Regions from separate parts of the Homo sapiens genome. Here region 1 is linked to region 2. Evidence: promoter capture Hi-C in 16 types of primary human blood cells and fetal thymus (Javierre and others, 2016). All regions are on one chromosome and are shown on one strand. The core of a region is centred on a gene start or on the middle of the fragment in contact, and the rest is flanking DNA. Distances in the headings are between cores, read along the strand shown. Region 1 overlaps LOC125312414 (a long non-coding RNA gene). Region 2 holds the start of LINC00970 (long intergenic non-protein coding RNA 970).

Evidence for each region. Contacts are between HindIII fragments. The CHiCAGO score rates a contact against its expected background, and 5 or more counts as called.
Region 1: a fragment that was not itself captured here is called in contact with the fragment with the promoter of LINC00970 in region 2 in 1 of 17 cell types (naive CD8 T cells); the score reaches 5.9 in naive CD8 T cells.

What each region holds. Positions count from the first base shown.
Region 1 is chr1:168,423,086-168,429,878 of GRCh38, reverse strand. All of the region lies in intron 4 of LOC125312414 (a long non-coding RNA gene), which reads left to right. Among named protein-coding and RNA genes, the nearest start is that of MIR557, 51 kb to the right of the region's middle. RefSeq lists an enhancer at 1,335-1,876. The HindIII fragment of the contact is 4,174 bases long and covers 2,632-6,793 here.
Region 2 is chr1:169,083,963-169,091,501 of GRCh38, reverse strand. It overlaps LINC00970 (long intergenic non-protein coding RNA 970), which reads left to right and starts at 4,497. Exons shown (of 5, transcript NR_104091.1): 1 at 4,497-4,547. The HindIII fragment of the contact is 14,978 bases long and covers 1-7,539 here.

The sequences.
Region 1 (6,793 bases), core at 3,469-5,968, 660 kb after region 2:
TGCTTTCAACTCAACCTTCCTAACTCCCTCCCTCTACCTGTGATGCTGTAATGAGCCACTTGCTATATTTCTACCAGGGTTGGGTGTCCTCACTCCAAACGAATGTCTGAGAGTTCTTAGGGGAAATGCTACCTACTCAGCAGTTCTTAGGGATGTGCTGCCTAATTCTGTGAGAGGCAGCACATCATAGTCAAAGGAACATCGAGTTTTAGGGTCAGAAAGATCTAGGTTTGAATCTTGGCCCTTCCCTTGTGACGCTGGGTTGCCTCCCAGAGCATCCAGCCCTGCACCTCTAAACTGTGGTTAATATTACTTATCCTTGTCAGGCTGCAATAAAGATGAACGAGTACAGTGACTAGTACAAGGCCTGGCACACACACACACAAAAAAAAAACAAAAAACCCCTTAAAGAAATACTAGCTCTTATTTGTTTTTATCAGTCCTTCTCAATCTGTTTAATTCAGCATGAGATGCTTCAGCCCTAGGGACACTGCCATCTTTTGCTGCATTAAAAGAGAATTTCTTGGCCAGAACGTCATAGTCCCTCAGGTACTCTGCAATGTAGACCATGTCTGGGGTTGTACGTCTGTTTCTAAGTTTCAGAGCTTCTAATCTATCAAGTGTCAGAGTTCCTCTCCCATCCAGATTATAAAGCCTTCAGGGCAGAAGTCTTCTTCTAAATAGCTATGTATACTTATTTCACTGTCCCTAGCACAGAGCAGGGTACAGGGTGGGCATTTTCTAAACAGCTGGTGTTGTCTGGTCAGGGATTCCTAAGCGGGTGGCTCTGTCCCCTCTCTGGTGAAGGCTGTGAAGCATTCTCAGCTGGTCAGTTTTCACCTGGGTCCAGTGACATTAGGCATATTGCTGGTGCCATCTTAGGTGGGGTAGCCATTAATTACAAAATCATACAAATTCCACAGGTGCCAGGTCTAAAACATGGTCCCAGGGGAAGAGGATTAACATTTACTGAGAATCCTCTATAGATCAAAAACACTAAAAGTATTGTTGTTTATTACTAATTAGTCTCTGTAACTGTCTTAGGAGATATCCCAACATTCCAGACAAGGAAATTGAGGCCTACACGGGTTAAGTAGCTAGTCCAAGATCTTACATCTAAGAGGCTGAGCCAGCATTCAAACTGAGTTGATCTCATTTAAAAAAAAAAAAATGCTTTTCCAACTTCATACTGCCTCCCACGAGTTCAAAAGGCATGAGACCTCAAGGCTACCACAAGAAAATACAGAGAGTTGAGTTCACACCAGTCCACTGAGCCCCTGAGGGATGTTCAGAGACCTCGGGGAGCAGATGGGTGGAAGTGCCTGTTCCCAGGGAAAGGGTCCTTCAGTGCTGCTTCCTGCCCTTTTCTCCCCTCTGCAAAGCCACACTGTGCTCCGGGGACACTTGGCTGCAGTGCCCTCACTCTTCACTTGCAGAGAAGCATCTGTCTCTGGCAGATCTTGGCTGTCCAGCTCCCCCCACTGCAGGCTGAAATGATTCATTCCTCAAGAAGGTGCCCAGCTTGTGCCTTGGGACCTGTCAGGATGAAGGATTCCAGTGGGGCTGCCTCTCACCATTTGTATGCTGATTTGGTTCCCTGAAATTCATTCTTATGCTCATTGCCTTTTCCATAGTGTCCCTCCCTCTCCACTTTTCCTTTTTCTGATATAGTACAGCAATGTATTTGGCCTCTCTTGCATTCTAAAAATAATTCTGGACTAGGGCTTTTTTCTTTGCAATTGCAGAGCTGCCTGGGCTCACAGTGTTCTATCCGTAGAACATAACCCTCTGTTTACTGAGTAAGATATGTCTGGAAATGTTTTTCTGGGCAAGTTGTCCCAAAGGGTTAATATACTGAGGAGGCGACAGAATAAGCATTTGCTGAAGGGATTATTTCTAAAAACACTTTAGACATAGATGATGAGGGGGAGCAGTGATCAATTGATAGATGTCCTTACAGATCATCTAAGCCAACCTGGAGCAGAATATAAAATGCCTCTCACGATCTTTAAAAGGTGATCAACTAGGCCGGGCGCGGTGGCTCACGCCTGTAATCCCAGCACTTTGGGAGGCCAAGGCAGGCAGATCACAAGGTCAGGAGATCGAGACCATCCTGGCCAACATGATGAAACCCTGTCTCTACTAAAAATACAAAAATTAGCTGGGCATGGTGGCGCGTGCCTGTAATCCCAGCTACTCGGATGGCTGAGGCAGGAGAATGGCGTGAACCCGGGAGACAGAGCTTGCAGTGAGCCAAGATCGCACCACTGCACTCCAGCCTGGCGACATAATGAGATTCCATCCCAAAAAAATAAAAAAAGTGATCAACTAAGCTCCCTCCAAAAACAGATAGATGATAGATAGATAGGTAGATAGACAGACTCAATTTTGTGCCAAGCAGTATATAGGATTTAGTGCTATGTGATGGTAAATAAAATAAATATAAGATGTACATGAATGATATAAATATATAGATGGTATAAGATGACAAAAGAATAAATTAATTAATTTGGAGATAAAATATACCCAGATCTGGTCCTCATGATGAAATCTCCCTCCTGGTTTTGCCACCACTTGGCTAACTTTCCAGAGCTGCCACCCAGGGCAGCAGGCATTTCTCTTTCAGAAGCTTTGCTTCCGGAATCAGGAACTTCCTCCCCAGCTGCCTACCCAGTTCTCCATAAGAAAGCATATTCTACAGTGTCAGAAAGTCTCAGGATACAATATATGCACAGATTAAGCAAAAGGCACATCATTGCACATTCCACAGTGCCCCCTGGTACTGGTTGACATGTAAATGGAGTTTCTGCAGCTAGTTCCAATTCCCTAGTTTAAATCATATCTCTCTCATTCAGCATTTCTGCACATTAAAAAATAAACAGACAGAGGCTTCCCCAAGTGAAGCCACCCTCTCTGCCACCAGCCACATCAGATTGGACCTTACCTGTCCCTTTGGCTTCCCTTCTCCTGGGATCCCAGCCCCCAGATCCAGTCCTGGAATGCTTCCTGCTCAAAAATTTGTTTTTGATCATTACACCTTCTAAAAATAAGTATCGTATGGCCTGGCACTCACCCCAGTGTTCCTTTCCAGGACTTCCATTTCCATCCGCATCCTGGCCCTCCTCCCAGGTGATTCTCAAGTCTGGTCCCATTTCAGGGTCAGCACTAGCAGGACCTTAGTGGACTGAAAACCCAATCACAATGTTACTATCCTAGCCCCACCGGCCAGTACATGCACACCATCTGAACACATTACTCTTGGCAGAAAAGATTCTGGCCTAGAGTCAGTTGAGGGGAAACAAGAATGATGTCTACTAGGAAATCAAGCTAGTGATTTGATTGTTTTATGGAATCATAGATTCTTAGACTTGAAAATAGCTTTAGAGGTCACCTAGGCCAACCTCTAACCTAAGGCCAAATGCAAATTGTCCCCTTTGATATTTGGAAGATGACCATCTGAGCTCCCCCATTATGCAAGACAAAATTATCAGTACCCTCCCAAATACATCTAAGGATGCCCAGAAGTGCTTATGTTGTCCAAGATGTCTCTTATGCCTCTTCCAGATACCCCCTCTCTGTCCTTTATCCCTGGCCAACTCATAACAGCTTCTCCTGGCTGCCCAAGCTGCTCATCCTGTTCTCTGTAAAGCCAAGCCTGGACACTGGCATCCCCCTTCACTTCCTAAGACATTGCTAACTAAGGACTCTAGCATGTGACAAACTCTACCAGGGCCGAAAGACAGCACATGGGCAGAGGTTCTTCCTGATCATCTTTCTTCTTAGCATTAGCCTGCTACCTTGTGCTCAGAACCTGCCCTGCTCTCCTGAATGGGATGTTCCTTCCAACATCCCCTCTCCTGGGGCCCAGGCTCCTACCTTTAGTCTCTGGGTTTGTCAGCAGAAGCCAAAATCAGTCACCATTTATATCAGCTCAAATTAGGTTTACCTGTGAGTGACTGAAAACCCAAAATAACAGTAGCTTAACGAAGACCGTAGTTATTACTTCCTCCCATAAAAGTCTGGGTGCTTACCAGGCTGGTCCATGGTGTCAGGGACAAAGACTCCTTCTCTTTTGTTGACCAGTCCTGCAGAGCCCTTGTTAATGACTGGAAGGGGCTTCAACCATCCCAGCCACATCCAAGAATTGAAATGGGGGTAGGGGGAGAAGGAAGAGAGAGCATGCAGAAACTGTCCCATTGCATCCTGTTAGCCAAAACTTGATACCTAGAGACCCCTTGCTGCAAGGAGGCTGGAAAAAAATGTAGTCTTTATCCTGAGTAACCACGTACCTAGCTAGTATTTCCATAACAAAAGAAGAGGAAGAGAGGAAATATTAGGGGTAGGGGAGAAACATTAACTGTCTCTGCTGAGTAAATACGTCTGTTGATTCCAATTCATTGTTGACTTCACCCTTTCCTTTCTATGTCCTTCCCTCATAGCTGCCATCTTTTTTTTTCAGTCCCATTGTTCCTATTCTCATTCTTGTTCATGGATTCTCACCTAGGATTTTGCCACAGCCCCCCAACAGGCCTCTCTGCCCCGCAACTCACTCCTCTGCTTCTCCCCTTGGTGACCTTGCTAAGCAGAGCTGTTACCTCGGACCTCTCCAGGCCAAACTCCTTCAATAACTCTCCACTACCTGCAAAATGAAGATCAACTGCATGGCCAGACATTCCCTACTCCAAACTGGCTGTAGGGTTAGGCTTTATTTTGCAAGTGGTGGGAATTCATCAAAGGTGTGTGGACTAGAGAGGTACAAAGTAACAGCTCTGCTCAGCAAATATAACCAAACAGACCTTGTGTTTGACTTTGGCTTCCCCACTTCACCCTCCATCTTTGCCTCTCAAACTCCCACCCATGTTTCAAGATCCAACTTGACTGTCATCTGCTCTATGAGCATTTTCCAGTTCCAGCCTTTGTCCTAGCTCTGCCAGTGTCACCCTTAAATACACACACACACACACACACACACACACAAACACACTCCATCACCTCCCTCACCTTCTCTGCTTCTGTGTTACTGTTTCATTTCATTTTGTTTCCTCTGTATTGCAGAGATGATGACTTTGTGTCTGTGAATCCATCTATCCCCAGCACTCTGGTAATGTGGACCATGCCTTGTTCATCTGTCTCCCACCCAGGGACTTGGACAAAGTGCTCAGTTGACATTCATTAAACTGATCATCGGTACCAAGAAATTACAAATAGATGCGTAAAAATCTGGAAACAGTCTTTCTCAGCAACCATTCCAGAATTACAAACTTTCTCTAGCATGACCGTAGGATCTAAATGCAGTTCCAGTGGAATTAAATGTATGGGTTGTTTTGTGTCTATAGCATGACTCCTTCCTGTCTGAGAACTTTCTGGAACCCAAATTGCTAGTGCAGCTGGAATCAGGGTGTCTGACAAGAGGCAGCTGTCACTTCACATTTTGCAAAATATTTCCACAAAAATTGCCCCAAAATGCAAAAATCTTTCATTAGGAAGAGCTGATTCATGGAATTTATAATAGGAATCCTGTATGGCTGCATAATTCAGTAGAGGAAAATAGAAAAGAATAAACAAGTATTGGTCTCTCCAGGCCATTCCTTTTGAAGCCAAGTCAGGGCACAGAGCACTATGGACACTGCATGACCAGCCTGGTTGAAGGCAATGTTGGAGATAAACTTTCCCACACAGAAACCCTTCTCAGCCCTGAGTCTCTGTAAAAATGCACAGCTCTTGCATGTACATAGAGACTTCTCTTCCCCAGGCAGAGGAGTCAACGTGAAAGCCAAAGCCAAAGCACACTAGCCCTTCAGAGATCAAAAACCCTGTGACACTCTCAGAATACCTGTGTCCTGACAGATATTCAGCAAAATATTTTGTGACAGTGTCACCATAACCTCTTTGGAACACAGGGCTGTAGGTCCCATCCTTCCTGCCTTTCTATGTACATCTCATGTGGAATCTTTCTCTCTCTAGTACATTCAACCTCCTTCTAACAACTGGTTTCTTCCAGTTAATTTTTTTTAATAGAGATGAGGTCTTGCTATGTTGCCCAGACTGGTCTCAAACTCCTGGCCTCAAGCGATCCTCCCGCCTCTGCCTCCCAAAGTGCTGGCATTATAGGCATAAGCCACTGTGCCCGGCCCCTCCAGTTGACTTTTAATGCCTAAACTTTTCACTTGAGAAAAATTAGCTTCCCTCAGGCTTCCTTTCGCTGGCTCCTCCCCTTCTCCCTGTACTTTACTTGTTAAGATTCCTCAGGGTCAATCATTAGAACTCAATGATTCTCCCTCTACACTATCCCTGGAAATTTTCACCCATACCCACAGCTTCCATAACCACCAATTCCCACATGACCCATAGTTTTCTGTGTCGAACCCAGATGCCTTCCAGCCCCATGCCCATCAGCCCAGCTGCCTACTTATCATCTCCGTTAGATATCTCAAAAGCATCTCAGATTAATCAGGTCCAAAACCAAATCCTCATTTCCATCTCCCAATCCTCCAGACAAAGAAACAATAAAAAAAGACAAGACTCTTCTCCTAGTGTTTCCTAACTTCCTGAATGATACCAACCAGGTGGATAAGCAGAAACCAGAACCCATCATGGGCATCATCTTTTCCATGCTATTCCCCAAAGCCAATCTAGCACCAAATCATATTAATTTACCTGCTGAATACCTTTCAGATCCTTCAGCTCTTCATATGTTTCCCTTCACAGGCCTTTCACGTGACGTTCCATGGCCTAGAAAGCTCCTCCTTCCCTCTCCTGGCTACCTGGTCAATGATCAGGTCAATGATAACAG
Region 2 (7,539 bases), core at 3,248-5,747:
AAGCAGCCCTGTCCTTGGATTCCTGTGAGATTTCTGTATCCCGACATTAAAACCCTCTTTTCTAGAATTAGCCTGAATGGGAACCTGTTCTTCGTAACGAAATGCTGGGGATTAGAACGGTGTACCTCAAATCCCTCCTATCTTAGTAAAGGTTGAAATAAACAGAATTTTGATGGGTGGTAGGCTCAGAACAAGCACAGAATGAGAAGGATTGTGCAGTCCTGACTACAAGGATGGTCATAAGATGAGGCTGGCTGAGAATTTCCCCCACACGGCAGTTCTGAGCTGTCTTGAACACTCTGTAACCTCCATGAGAGCCCCAAGCCCAGGCCAGACAAAGCCATGCAGTGCGTTAACTTGTCTTTGGCAGCTTTCAACCTCTTTCTGCATTTTCAGCCAGTGAGATCCCTGCCATCAGAACTCCCATGTCCTGTGCTCATTCCCTCAAAATTCCGTGTTCTGTTGTGTGCACAGGCACTAGGGACTCCTTGGGGATCAGTGCCTTATTTAATGTGAAACTAGTAATGGGGAATTTTAGGTCCGTTTAGTTTATTAGGGGCTTTTGGTGTCCTGCAAATAGCACCCAGGCAGGGTCCTTTGGCCATGTTGCAGCAGCAGCTCTCTGTCTGCATTCCAGTATAATAGACTGTGAGAGAAATAACATCTCTCTTCTTCCTTTAGGTTCAATCTGTCATTTACAATTGCCAATTCTATTTCCTGGAAAAACAAAAACAAAAACAGGTAGAACTCTTAGGTCTCTTCTTTCTCCAGCCTTGTTTATCTCCCTTCCTCTTTTTAAGTTGACCGTTTTGATTCTGCTGTTCAAATGCCTGGATCAGATCAAATGCCAGGATTGCTCACGGTACATTCAGTGAGGGATTATAATAAACTAAGGGGAACCAGGAGAAACCCACAATGATGGCATTTAGCACATTCAAAGTTGAAAATAAAGTCAACGTTTATCCTTAATCAGCTCAGTCTTGATCTTACTCATCCTGGGTTTCTTGACTCTGTCTCTGGTTAGTTTGCTCTTCCATGGGCTGTATCTTGGTACTCCACAATTTTCAGTGAAATACATTACAGCCCCATGACATTCTGTTTACAGTAGGTCTTATAGAAGGAAGGTAAGAAGGTGGGGGGAGGGAGTGAGCACATTACCAGGTGAATGGTCGCTGTGTGCCAGCCACAGCTAGATGCTTTTAATCCTCAAAACAAAATGAAACAAAACTGGAGAGGAATTAATATTGCAATTTATGGGAAAATGGAAGACTATGCAATTTGCCCAAGTTACTAATACCTAATAAGTGGTACACTCAAAATCTAATCGAGGTTGTCTGACTTCTAAAGCCCGTGCTCCAAAATTGGCATCAACACATTTATGTAGAGTCTTTTACTAATGCCATTAATTGTTATACCTTGGAAAAAAGGGGAGGCATATAGCTTATTTAAAGCACATTCTTTATTAGTGAACCAAGGATGGAGAGGGGGATGGAGAACCACTGTGAATACATTCAGTAATTTATCAACAGGGGACTTTGTTTTGCCACAGCTTTATTGTTTGACTCCAGAAGAACCCATTGTCTATTCTGTGACTTAGTTTTACTATCAGATTAAAAAAAAAACAAAAAAAAAAACGAAAAACAATGTTCTCAGTGTTTGAAGAGCTTAGTAGAAATCTAGATTTTTATATGGTGTTTTGCCTAGATTTCCTTTTGATTTGTAGGATTTTTATATAAATTATTTATATAAAATAATAAAAATAATATAAATATATATTTATATTAATATATTATTATAAAATAATATAAATAATAATTATTTGTATGCTTATTTATGCAATCAGTTATAAACACCCCATACAGAGCAATTTCATTTTAATTTTTTTGTTTTGGAGCGCAGTGGTGCTATTTCAGCTCACTGCAACCTCCTCCTCCTGGGTTCAAGCAATTCTTGTGCCACAGCCTCCCAAGTAGCTGGGATTACAGGTGTCTGCCACCACACCATGCCGATTTTTGTATTTTTTGTAGAGACGGTGTTTTGCCATGTTGGCCAGGCTGGTCTCAAACTCCTGGCCTCAAGAGATCCGCCCACCTTGGCCTTCCAAAGTGCTGGCATTACAGGCATGAGCCATTGTGCCCGGCCCATTTCAGTTTCTGCTACAGCACTAAACTTACGTTTCTTAAAGGTAGGCCTTATGTCTTCATCAAGGAATCCTAAATTGTTAGACCTGAAAGGAACGTGAGAGATCATATTATGGCTGATGATATCTTTTTCTGTTTCCCTCACATGACCTGGCACCATACCTTGTATACAGTAGGGGGTTTAATAAATAGCAATTGTGTAAGTAGATAAATGCTTTGTACGCTTTGTAATTTGACCTCTCCCCCATATCGTCTATGAACAATGATACAGGAACAATTTGAATCTCTGAACACAATTATTATGTGTTTTATGCAATCATAACCACTCCTATAGGAGTTTGCTTGTTTTTGTAAGTGTTTTCCTCCTGAAATGACCTTTACTATCAGTTAGGTTTAGCTTAGAATATGAATTCCATGTATTCAAGTATTTTGTAGAAAAAATACCTCTGTCCTCTGTGATCATATTAGAGCTACCTGATGACAAAAACAGCATTTGGGTAACACCATGAAACTGCATCACTCACTGTACTTACTTCATCAGTATATCGTCTGTACCAAGCCTGGAAACCAGTTTACCTCTGCCCTGGCTTTAGGGCTGACTTCATCGGTGTGCAATCTATGCAGTTACACGGCGTCCTTAGCTTAGTGGAACCCCCTGCTTGGATTAATGCTCAGTTGTCACCTTTTTGAAATTCTTAATAAATTTTCTGGCAAGTGCCCTGCATTTTCATTTTGCACTGGACTCTGCAAATTATGTAGCAGGTCCCGACTCCCTGTCTGTGTTTGAGCATTTTCTCTCTCCCTTTCACATCCTCCAATCCGGCTTTCCAAAGGCAGAGACATCACATACACTCATCTTAGTGGGACCTGAAACATCTGCCAGGCCTTTAGAATAAACTAGTAAGTGAAGTATTCAAAATAAATGGATATTCATACATACTGGCAAACTAATGGAATGGAATGATCATGCATAAATCATTGACTGGTGCCAGCCACTGAGCTATGGGTTTATATACTAATTTTGTTTAACTGCCACCTCAAACCTGTGAGAGAGTGCTATTATTCTGATTTTACAAATGGGAGAAGGGAGGCTCAGGAAGGTCAGTAAGTGGCAGAGCTCACACACTGAGTTCTGATGTGTCTGAGTCCAAAGCCCATTCCCATTTCACTGCATTCCTAACTGAGGCCTGGAAAACTTACCCCTGAGATCACAGCATTGCCTGAGAGGAAAAAGGACTTTTCCTATGGTTTTCACACTTTCACTTTTTGCACTGGATCTTTCAGTTGTCTGGTTAACAACTAGGTTACGTCATTCTATATGGGGCTTTCAGATACAGAGCAACTTTCCCAGGACCACCCATTAAACTAGAAGTGAAGTGATATCGTTGTTCTCACTATGATGGTAGGGTGAAGGAAGCAGATTGGCCATGCCAAAACTGATGTCCTCTGAGATCCCGAGGCCCAAGCCAACATTTGACGGCATACCTCACTCAACAACACTTTTACCTGTGTAATAGAAAACAACAGCCATTTATAACTCGCTTATTCATTTTTTTTTTCCACAGGCCTCTGCGCAGCATCTGCTATGTGCAGGCACTGTGCTAGGCCCTGTGGAGACAATAATGAAAAAGATATAGCCCCTGCTTTTCAGATGGTCACAAATTGGCAGAAGGGTGCAAACTCATAACTCTCTTTATTCCAACATTTTGCCAGCTCTGGTTGTAAAGTTGAGGAGTTAGGAGTTGGAGTAAATTTAGGAAATGGGTAGAATATTATTTTTGCAGCTCATTGGAATTCTCCCTTGTTACAGATCAGGGTCCTGGGTTGGGTGGCATACCTATGCCTGTCATTATTTGCATCCCTGGTTTAACAGCTGGCTCTGGCCAATCTTATACGATCCTCTACCTTAGCAAACAGAAACACAGTTTTTGAAAATTCACATGAAGAAGAGTTGAATAGCAAATAAGTTCAGCCTTGAGGCTCCACCTATTACCTGGCTGTTGAGCTTTGTAAAACCATTGATTGTTTAACAGCCAGCAGGGCAAGAAGGCCAGAATTATGCTCAGCAAATGCAGAAACAGAGCACAGTTGTCTGTGTGTGTTTCCATGGTAACAGTGATAACAGCTTATATTTATAGACTCTCTATCTCCAAGGAGCTCAAAGCACTTTACAAACACATCATCTCTCTTCTATAGGAAAAAGAGAGAAGGAGAGAGAGGGGGATAGGAAGAGAGGTAGAGAGAGAGAAAGAAAGGGAGAGAGGGAGGGAGGAGGAAGGGAGAGAGGGAAGCAGGGAGGGAGAGAGAACAGGAGAAGAAGGAGGAGGTACAGAAGGACTTGGTGTGCTATTATGCACATTTCACAGATGGCACAGAGTGGGGAAGTCAGTGACCCAAGGTGGCAAGGTAAGCCAGTGACAGATGGTAGATTGGATGGACCTAGTGGCTCATATAACTCCTGGAACTTTTGCTGCTGGCCTTGAGCAGATGTCAGGGCTGAGCTGCTGTCTCCTAGTCATCTTGCTCTGTTCAGTGTCATCTAGGTGATCAGATAACTCCGGGGACATCAAAAGCAGTTTGGCTCAGTATTGTTGGTGGGAAACACAGGGAAAATTCTTCCATGGGGAGTTGGGGATAATGTCCAAAGTCCTTATAGCCAGACAGCCACCAGGCAATCCCAGACTGTGTTCCGAGGGATGACAGGCTCAGCTGTGCTGCACACTCATACTGAGGCTCTGCGCACATTGATGGAAATGGTTTTCTTCAAATAGAGCCCATTTCACAGTTTCTGAAGGACCTTTGGAGGAAATGCCTTTTGGGTACTTCTTTCTGAGACAACTATTAGACATGTGATGTGACTTGGAGTTATCTGAAGGCTGTAGCCTATGAAATTGAAAATGAGTTTTGTAAATCTCAGATCTACTATTTTCTGTATAAAATTCTTGTATGAATAGAGCCATGTCCTCTGGTGGAGGCCTGAACTCTTGGAGTGGGTTAGCATGAATCTCAAGCTCTTGAGTCCTGGAGCAGCCTGTCCCCATTCTTCTTTAGCCAGAGTTGGCCTTGGTCCCCACTTCTTACCCTCACAGGCCTTCTGTTTTCCCCCTCACTGCCACCTCACTCCACATTTAGCCTTTGGAAAATAGCAACTATTTTCTCTTCTAAAAAAGAGTCATTTTCTGCAGAGCATTCAGTCAATCCAGCCAGCAGTCCCCATGGCAACACTGAGATAAGATCCTTCCTCCCGCAGGTCTTCAGTGGTCTTGATAAACAGATCCCACCGGTTCCTGCAGCCCATGACCTCAGGCTGAAGCCAAAGATGAGCTTCTTGCCTGTTTAGGCTTCAGGGATGCTGGACTGAAGGGCTGATAGTTTGAGTAGCTGAGTCCCAGCAAAGTTTAAATGCTTTACAAATAGGCTTCTGACCCCCAAAGCAAAAATAAATTAAGCAAAGAACTTCCTGAAGGAGGAGGAGCAGTTGTTGGAGGGCCTTCTGGTTTCTGCACCATCTTAGTAGTTGACCTACATCCACCAGCGCCTGGAGGCTCACCCACCCAGGGGGAGTGAGTGGGCTCTTCCTCTGACCCTCTCAGGGTGGGCTGCACTCAGACTGAAGTTCTTTCTCTTCCTTCAAGATGCCAAGCTCCCTCTTACCTCCTGGCCTTGAGCTCCAAGCAGGAAGGAGCCCCAACCCCTGGTTTTGTGCCTGGTGCATACTCAGAATTTGTAAAGGAATGAACTCCTTTTGGCTGTTCCCTCCCTCCCTTAATCTTCACACCTTTTTCTTGGCCTTCCCAGTCCTCCTCCTTAAGGTCCCTCTTAGACACTCTGAAATTCCATCTCTCCCACTTCTTCCTATATAGTATTTTATCTTTCCCTCATTACAGCACTTATCACACACTATGGCAATTGCTTATTTTGATAGGAGTTTCTGGATGTCACTGAAACTGGCTTTTGGAGGTTTGTTGGAAACAGCATTTAAAGGTTTACTTCTGAATTAAAAATTAATATTCTGATTATTAAAGTTAGGATTAAAAACATAGTTTATTTGGGTTCAACTTATATGTGTAATTATTTTATTTTATATTTTTCCCAACTTTTAAGTTCAGGGGTACATGTACAGGTTTGTTACTATTTTATTTTTTAGTCTAGCAGAGTTTAGCAATCACTTCTAAAGGGCCTATGAATAAAGTTAATTACTTTCAAATAGTTTAAGCTATGATTATTAGTTATAATCGCCATCTCTTTCTTTTCCTATATGCATTTGTCTGTATTAACAAACTAAACTTTTTGGAGGACTTTAATACTCATATACATTTAAGCTCTTAAATGTATAAATATAGGATCCTAAGGTTCTCTTGTATGTTCCAGTAAACTTAAGAACTCAAAACCATAAAATTTCACATCAATTACTCAATTGTATTTTAAATGGGCCTTACAAGGCTATCATTCTAATAGGTCTGATTCTATTAAAAATTGCAAATACACAAAATAGCAACTATACACAATTTTATTCTTTAATACAAAATTATCAATACTATGGTTTGGGTCTCTCAAATCTTTCCATACTTAATTCTCAATCTTCCTGGTGTTAGGAAACACATAACCTACCTAAGGGAAGGCATTTGCCATCACAGGTAAATGAAGTTAGTTTTGCCCAGAAGATGGTCTTCCTGGTGACCATGATGGGACTTAGCCTTATTTAATGCTTATAGAGTCATAGGTTTTCACACTAAAGAGGCTGGTCTCCCACAGCCTTTGTCATTCCATCTGATTCTTTGTTTACTCAGAGGAAGCCTGTAGTTCCCATTCTTATTGATCACTTCACTGGATTTTGTATTTCCTTGTCCCTTAAGATTTGTCAGTATATTTACAAGTAACGCTAACTTAAACTTGATGGAATCGTAAGATTTATATACATTATCTTCTTGTTAATAATAAATACATTTGACCTTGATGGGGTTTCCTATTCTCTTATATTCTTAGGATCATACACGTCTTAGGGCTATTACACGTGATACTCTGTTGGGTTTTGTCTCACTCGTCATGACTCTTGAGGTCATTCTGCTTGCTGCTCCAAGGTCTCCTCCATTAGACTGTGAGCTTCCTGAGGGCAGGGCAAAGATGATTTGTTTGGAGTCATAAGCCCAGAATTCAGCATCTTTCTTGGCAAAGGACAGACATTATTGTCACTTGACCCTCCAGTTAAAGATAACCAGGAGCACACCTATCATTGAGCATCTTGGCCCTATTACTCATTGCAACGAGGCAGAATGCACACCGTGGACAACCATGGGGTATCTCAGTAAAAAGGGGCCAGAAGGACTTAGTAAAGGATTGGGCTTGTGTTAGGTTATTTTGAGAAGGGTTTAAAGAAGCAGGCTCTGCTCTGGATTGG